Linked DNA regions of Homo sapiens: region 1 is linked to region 2. Evidence: promoter capture Hi-C in human tissues and cell types (Jung and others, 2019). All regions are on one chromosome and are shown on one strand. The core of a region is centred on a gene start or on the middle of the fragment in contact, and the rest is flanking DNA. Distances in the headings are between cores, read along the strand shown.

Evidence for each region. Contacts are between HindIII fragments. The study calls those that stand out against the background at their distance.
Region 1: a contact is called between a fragment that was not itself captured here and the fragment with the promoter of PLAA in region 2, in 1 of the 25 tissues and cell types used here (dorsolateral prefrontal cortex).

The regions. Positions count from the first base shown.
Region 1 is chr9:27,423,414-27,427,651 of GRCh38, forward strand. All of the region lies in intron 2 of MOB3B (MOB kinase activator 3B), which reads right to left. Among named protein-coding and RNA genes, the nearest start is that of IFNK, 99 kb to the right of the region's middle. The HindIII fragment of the contact is 3,927 bases long and covers 822-4,238 here.
Region 2 is chr9:26,944,507-26,948,816 of GRCh38, forward strand. It overlaps PLAA (phospholipase A2 activating protein), which reads right to left and starts at 2,736. Exons shown (of 14, transcript NM_001031689.3): 1 at 2,391-2,736. The coding sequence starts at 2,539. It also overlaps a transcript of IFT74 not described here. RefSeq lists enhancers at 1,811-2,486, 2,230-2,489, 2,487-3,160, 2,750-3,059. The HindIII fragment of the contact is 5,571 bases long and covers 1-4,040 here.

The sequences.
Region 1 (4,238 bases), core at 1,535-4,034, 480 kb after region 2:
TAACTTACCTAAGATTTAAGTCACTTCTTGTTGCAAGCAAGCAACTGTTGGTATGATGGCTAAACTAAGCTACTCTCACCTTACTTATACCCTGATCCTTAAAGAAGGTATGGAGCATTTAGTGTGGAGCATTTAAAGAGGGAAAAAAAATCAATAAAGTTGGATTTATGGTTATCTGATTTCTGCTAATCTCTTTAGAAAGCCTAACACTTGGGTCATAACATTCTTCACATGTGTAATAACTGGTTTAGTATCTGTCTTCACTACAAGAGTAGAAGTTACAAGAATTGTCCACTCTTTCAAATACAATGCCTTCATATGGCAGGCAAAACACACAGAACATACATATTTGTTTAATAAATGAATAAACTGATTGAGACTTTATGTTCATCAGAGAAAGTATCAATTATTTAGCTAGATCTTATTATAAGACAGGTGCTAAGTGCTTTAACATATATTAACTCATTTAATCCTCTCAACAACTATACGAAGGAGGTGCTAATCTGCCCACTTTACAGGTGAAGAAATAAGGACACAGAAAAATTAAGTTACTTTCTCCAGGTTACATAGCTAGTAAGTGGTGGAATTAGGACATGAACCTAGACAGGCTGGCTTCAGAGTCTGTGCCCTTAGTCTCAAGGCAATACAGTGTAAATGTCTGTGCATGCTGACTACATACGCATCTTAAAGCTCTGGCTTCCTGACAGTTAATCATCACTCACATAGAGTTAGCCTCTTGACATCCCCTATGCTTAGGTATGAAGCTGTTAAGTAAGAGAAGAAAAATGGAAAAAGGACATTTACTGTTTCTGTGGCTTCTTAAAGACACTAAGACTACAGACAATGAACTTAGAAGAAAAATGATTAGGCTGATTTAGAGGTTCATCCCAAACATCCCAATAACCATGACCAAATGAAGCCATGTCCCAAGACGTGCTAGCCACGGACACAGAATAATGTGTATGAGGCTCAAACTGAAGGCCCAAAGAGATACACAGGAACAGGGCAGGTCCCCAGTGAGTCATTTCAGAGCAATTGCTTTTTGCTTTCCTTCTCCCATTTACTTCATTTCTCATCTGTTCTTATATGAATCAAACCCCAGAACTGCGAGGAAGATAAACTCTGAGTGATTCTTGCTATTGCCAAACCCAGTGAAAGAACCACCGGGGGCCAATCATAAACTGCATGGGGACCCATGACTACTCAGTCAACATGACTTCTGCCCAATCCAGTGGGTGCGCAGACTCTACAAAGGGCAAATGCTGATGGTGAGCTTAATGGGATAATGCAATTTGTACTGGCCACCGAGCAAAGAATATACCAGACTGGAAAGCCAATCTGCCAATCAACTCATACATAGTAAGTTCCTACCATTTGCCACAGATTAGAACACAAGAGTTATGTTGGTGCATCAGTAGTAGCCATCCATGTTCCATACTTGTGTCGTAAGAACCAAAACTCTAGAGAGAAACCTTCCAGAAACTGTCCTCAACCTTCCAGGTCTCTTCCAGCCTCTTCCCAAGACAGCTGCATTCTGCTCTAGGGTTCTGTGAAATATGCCTGTAATCTTAGAAGTAAATTTTTCTCCACCACCCATAATTTATTGCTTGCTTGCTTAAACTAAACTACCTCCAGTTAGTTTTTGTTACAGGAAAATCCTCATTCAAAGTAACTGGGGGCATCCAGGCGCGGTGGCTTGTGCTTGTAATCCCAGCACTTTGGGAGGCCGAGGCAGGTGGATCACCTGAGGTCAGGAGTTCAAGACCAGCCTGACCAACATGGAGAAACCCTGTGTCTACTAAAAATACAAAATTAGCCAGGCATGATGGAGCACGCCTGCAATCCCAGCTACTCGGGAGGCTGAGGCAGGAGAATCGCTTGAACCCAGGAGGCGGAGGTTGCGGTGAGCCGAGAGCGCGCCATTGCACTCCAGCCTGGGCAACAAGAGCAAAACTGTCTCAAAAAAAAAAAAAAAACAAAACAACAACAACAAAAAAACAAAGTCACTGGGGGCAGATCTGTTTCTAAAATTCAGGATTTCTCAGAATTCAGAATGGTGCTGTGATACATATAGTACCCATTACATAACACCCCCAGCAGAGCCTGGGGCAGCACCTTGGAATCAAGCACATTAATACCTTTTCAGGGAAACATGAATGTTCATATTAAGTTAGATAAATAAAGAATACAAATAGTTTCATGCAGATGAAAACACTCATGGTTTTCAGGCTTTTTCTAGACTTCAGAATAATGGATTGTAGTCCTATATTTATAACCCAAAGTCCAATGCAGTGGGCTTATGTCTAAAAGGGGTCAAGGGTTCAGTGTGTTCATTAGAAGGCATGAGGCTCTTTTGTCAGCCTTCTCTTCCTTTCCCTTTTCCTAGCATCCCCCTCCCCAAGGTATTTCCAAACAATGTATTTCAAGCTTACATTCTACCATCTTTTCATCAATCAAACCACAAAGGGCCTGAAATGAGGGACTGGAAAAGTCATAGGTAAGGAAGGAAGAGTGACGGCAAACTGACTTATCCATTAGACGTTAGACGAAATAGCCCTGATTCACCCAGCAGAAGGAGGAGGGTGCTCTGTTTCTTTATGGAAAAGCAGGAGGAGTTGAATATTTACACAGTGCTTACCACAGCTAAGCCTTTAAATATATGGTTTCATTTCATCCTCTCAGTAAATCTTAGGAGGTAAGTGCTACTGTTATCCCCCATTTTACCTATGAGGACACAGAGACTTAGTAAGCCAGGAAGTGGCAAAACTGGGATTCCAACCTATCCTGTGTTGATACCAGAGCCCACACTCTTAATTTGTTTAACTTGGTATAAATAAAGTCATGTACATTGAGTGTTACTCAAACCTAATTTTCTCAGTTACAAGCACCAAATAGGAAGGAAAGGGGTTATACGTTTTGTTTTGTTTTCATTTTTGCTTGGCATGAGCAGAACAGGAAGGTATAGTGTTGGGGTGCAGGGAGAGGTCTAGGGGACATACACTGTTTTTCAAGCCTGCATCAGTTGAGATATCATGTGTATTGGCAAAGCTTATGCACACAGAGGTCCAGGCAGGTGACCAAGCTACTGTGAAGTGAATCTTTTGTTTGGGCACACAATGCTACCCCTGCAGGGATTTCTGAAGCTCGCTCCAGAGCGTCATGGCCATTGCCTGTCAGAGCTCTACCTCATGCCTAGAAGCAGCTGCTGCTTCTTCAAAGGAGTCCAGGCTCAGCTGATATCTAATCTCAGAATAATACATGACACTGTCCCCCCCTGCCCGACTCAGAATCCAAGGGGAAAATAATGAGATCCTCTAGGTTCCCCCAAGACTCACTTCCCAGGCTTGCACTATTTCCTTTTCTGCAGCCTCCTACTGCCTAGACTTGGAGGACTGGTTTCAGTCAGAATAATCCCCGCCTCCCACCTCCACCCCCATGTGCTTAAAAGCAAGCTCTCAGAGTTCATGACAAGTACAGAGAGATGGAGGGTAATGGAATAGGCGGGATGCTTGATTTTTCTTGCAGAATCCCATGCTTGTGTGGGCAAGATGAATCTGCAAGCACACACTGGATTATTCTAGGTGCCAATTTAGGAAGAGAACATCCAAGTTTGCCATGAGCAAAGGCAGAGCAAGGGCTACATGCTCTCCTGAAAGCAGATCCCAGAATTCCAGGGCAGGGAGTGAAAAATGCCTCCAAGGCTTGACTTCCTGCCTACCTGCATCAGAGTTCAGGGCACCTTGATGCAGACCTAAAGCAGTGCTAGTTCCATTTTTTTTCCCACCCACCAGAAGGCCAGGGCTAAGCCTCCTTAGTACAACCCATAGACTTTATGTTCAACAAAAGGAGAAACTTCAGGAACTGATATAGCCCAAATGTGCAAGCATTCCCAAAGAGCATCTGGTTACCTCCAAGGGAAAAAGAAATGCAAGCAGGCATGAACCACGTCACCTGCCAGACAATTCCCATGTGGCTAACGTCAAACATTCTTTCAGAGTGACTGGTTTGAAGAGAGATGTCTGCAAGGACAAGGAAAAGCTTTTCATATGCAGCCACCTCTCTGCTCCAGTTACTCTAGTAGTGCCTTAATGTCAGCCCAGGTAGTCATGCCTCTGGGATAAGTAGGTACATAGAAGGCACTAATAAATCTCAGATTTTCTAACAAACTCGAGAGATGGATTTACTCCATTGTTTTTTTGTGGCTCATCTTCCCCTAGTTCAAATAAAAAAAAGGAATG
Region 2 (4,310 bases), core at 1,486-3,985:
TGACTTTCCTGGGCCACATTGGAAGAAAAATTGTCTTTGGCCACGCATAAAATACACTAATAATTACAATAGCTGATGAGCATTTTTAAAAAAATCACAAAAAAAGCCTCATAATGTTTTAAGAAAGTTTATGAAATTTGTGTTGGGCCACTCTTACAGCCACCCATGGGCCACAGGATGGACAAGCTTGCTAACCTAACCAGCAGGATATGAGAGACTAAATAATCTTATCTCACTACGCACTAACACACACTGTGGCAAAATGCAAGTTCTTCATCAGTGTTAGATAAATACATACAGGAATGAATTTTGAAAAACAAAAACAAAAAAATCATGAGTTCGGCCAGGCGTGGTGGCTCACGCCTGTAATCCCAACACTGGGAGGCCAAGGTGGGCAGATCACCTGAGGTCAGGAGTTCAAGACCAGCCTGACCAACATGGAGAAACCCCATCTCTACTAAAAATACAAAATTAGCCGGGCATGGTGGCACATGCCTGTAATCACAGCTTCTTGGGAGGCTGAGGCAAGAGAATCGCTTGAACCCCGGAGGCGGAGGTTGCAGTGAGCCAAGATTGTGCCATTGCACTCCAGCCTGGGCAACAAGAGCAAAACTCTGTCTCAAAAAAAAAAAATCAATAGTTCAATGAACAACAAAATCACTTTTCAAATAGAGAATCAGTTCAGCCCAAAGTTCTTCAAGTTCCTGGTAAGCACAACCACTCCAGTGATTAAACCCTTGTCAAACTAGTACAGTCCCAAAAGTTTAATGACAGGATTCCATTATTAAAACAGGCATCCTTGATTATACTCCTTACTGCAATGGTTATATTCTACTGGGCTTATGCTTCTACTGGATTCAATTTTAAAGGCAAAAACTTAATAACTGTACTCAAACAAAAAGTTCCATATTAGTATTACTAAGTAGTTTTGGATATTATAGAATTTTAGAGTTAGATCTTTAGAGATCATCTCATTCAATTCAATACAGGAATTTGCTCTATACTATCCCTAGCCTAGTGGACCATCTTGTGTTGATTATACTACTTCAAAAGCCTCCAAGCAAACCCACTTCTACACTTATCCCTTCTCAATCTATTCTCTACCATCAGCTAGCAGAAACTTCTCAACACGGAAATCAGATCATGTTGCTCCCTGCTTGAAACTATTTGAAGGCTTCCATCTGCAAACTCCATAACCTGGCTCTTGCCAGCCTCAAAACCTGCCCTCACCTCACAGCTAATTCCCTCCTGTTTGCTCCTCCAGCTGCCTGGAATGCTCTTCCAATTCAATCCTCCCTATTTGCTCTTCCACGACCAGCTCCATCCATCTCATGCTTCAAATGTCAACTTTAAACAAACAACTCCTCAGAGAGGCTTCCTTTAATATATCTCTCCACCTAATTAACTGTATGTTTTCTTCACATGCCAGTTTTTAATTATTTATTGGCTTGTTTTTTAATCTATCTTCCCCATCAGACTGTAAGAAAGCTCCAGAAACACTGGCAACTTGTCTGTCTTTATTCCTCTCCAGTATCCCAAACAAAGAGGAGGCACTCAACAGTTATCAACTGAATTTATGGATGGTGACTCAAATTCTAAAATCTCTAGCAGTGGGAGACCTACTAAATAACAAAATAACTAACCTCAATTTTTCTTTCTCTGAACTGCAATCTGTCTTCTAGGTCTTAAATATCCTGTTACAACCAGCCAAATCAGGGCTGAACCCGTGAACTCGATCAGGACTGATTCCTAACCTTTTTCTTCTTTTTTTTTTTGGTTCGTGAACCCTTCTGATAAATCCTTTGAAGGCAATGGATGCTGCTTCTCCTCAAGAAACAGCACATGCACAGAAACAAAACATCCGAGAGGTTTCACTCCCTCAGGACCAGCACAGACCACAGACTAAAATTCTAACCTGGACGAAAAGAGGATTCACCAGTGCAATTTTTGAGAACTAAAGTCTTCAAAAATTAAATTTTACAGAAGACTACAGAGCATCTTCTTCGAAAAAAAAAAAAAAAGAGGACATTTCAGATGCCTTCAAACTACCTCACTTCGGAGGGTGCAACTGCAATCAGTAAATTTTCAAGTCTAAAAGAAACTTGGGAGATCATCGTCCAAAAACTGAAGGCCCAAAAGGTAGGAGACTCGTCTGTGGTCAAGTTAGCACAACAAGGCAGGTCTTTGGTCCCCCAACCCTGTGCTCTTTCCACTTAAATCCCGATGGTTTCTTACAGAGTTCTAATAGTCTGAGAATTGGAAGGGAGCGGAGAGCAGAGGGAAGGCTGGGGGGAGAGAGAGACGGCAGGACTGACAGGGAAGGGTCACTCTCCTTCCACTCTCCGGGAAGCGTGCAACACAGCCGGGGCAACCCGACTCCCAGCGCTCACCTGTCTGGGGCCCAGAGGCGGGTGGTGCGGTCTCGGGACACGGACACAAAGGCTCCCGGCGGATAGGCGCAGCACACCAGGCCCCGTACGTCCAGCTCGTGGCCCCGGAGCGAGCAGCTCAGCCGGTACCTGGTTGCGCCGCTCGTCATGGCCAGTGTCTGTCTGGCGCCCGGTGCCCAGGCACTGTGCGAGACCAGTCCGCAGGGGCGACTCGGAGAGCGCCGGGCCGCGGCGGGAGAAGAGCCTGCAGGTAAGGGGCGGCCGGAGACCGGAAGAGCCCGAGAGCCGGTACGGAAGGGCGGCTGGGAAGGGGCGCGCCGAGCGGGCCGAGTGACACAGCAAGCCTGACAGGCACTCCGGAATTCATCATCGGCCTCAGCCCTCCATGACGCAGAGTGTGTGCGTCCCAACCGCCGACGCCGATGCGGAGCTGAGCTGGCTTTCCTCCAGGGCTCTGGACTCCCTGCTGAGCAAGAGAGAAAGAGGCCCGCCCTTCCACCAGGACGCCTGACCCTGGGGTCCTTCCCAAACCCGGGTCTCTTCCGACTCCGGGCCCAACAGTTTGTGGTAAATCGGGAAGCGGGCCGGGACTACAATTCCCATAATGCCGCGCCAGCTGGCGTGGACATCCGGCGCGCCGAATCCGGATATTTTAAACCTGAGTCTTTCGCGCTGGGCATGGCGGAATGGCTGAGTGAGGTTGTTTGGTGTCTACTGTTAGGTCATCCTCACTGCTTTTCCCTGAGAATCTCGAGGTTTTTGCAAGTTAACCTTGTTTTTCAATTAAAACGAGAAAGCTTGAGGCCAAATTGGGAACTATTAATCATTGAACTATTCCTCCGTTTCAAGTTATCTGAATCTCCTACTCTCTGTTGTCAAATTTAGCAAATACGGTGGTCCAAGTCAATTTTTTAAAGGTATAACTACTTTTCTCTGGCGGCTTGTTAAAATGTAGATTCTGATTCAGTAGGTCTGAGTTAGAGCTGAGATACGTATTTTTAACAACCCCGCCGCCCACCCACCCGTGGTGCTACTTGCTAGTCATTATCAGACCTTATTGAGTGCCAGGGTAAACATGACCTGTCTCCTTACTTTGTTTTCTTCCCATCCGCTATTCTCTCGCATCCAACTACACTTTTCCACAAACCTTTCTAAATTGCTAAGCCCAATTCACACTTTTCTGACTTCTCCCTTCCTAAAACTCCTACTCTAGGTTTGGAATCACTTTTCCCCTGGTTTGGGAGATCATTCTTGAAATGCTGACTTTTGATACTTCTTTGCTATCATATCCCCTCCCTGGGTGGATTATTTACTACTTGGCTTATTTCTAGAGCTGTATTCCCATATTGTCTTCTCCAAACTCTAGATCTGTATTTCTAGCTATCTGTTAGAAATCTGTACCAATTAGTCCTACTTAAATTATTTCAACATTTCTCTGGCCTTTCTACCCCTTCTCTCCAGCCAATCCTACACATTAAAATATAATTATCTTTCTGAAATATACACTTAATTGTTTTTTCTCTGTTTGACAACCTGTGATGGCTTTCCATTATTTTTTTTTTTTTTTTTTTTTTTTTTTTTTTTTTTTTTTTGAGACGGAGTGTCGCTCTGCTGCCAGGCTGAGTGCAGTGGCGCGATCTCGGCTCACTGCAACCCTCGCCTCCCGGGTTCAAGCGATTCCTGCCTCAGCCTCCCGAGTAGCTGGGACTACAGGAGCGCGCCACCATGCCCAGCTAAATTTTGTGTTTTTAGTAGAAACGAGTTTCACCATGTTGGCCAGGATAGTCTCAATCTCTTGACCTCATAATCTGCCCTCCTCTGCCTTCCAAAGTGCTGGATTATAAGCGTGAGCCACCACGCCTGGCCGGCTTTCCATTCTTATAGTACAGCATTACATAGGGCCTTTCACACAATCTCCCT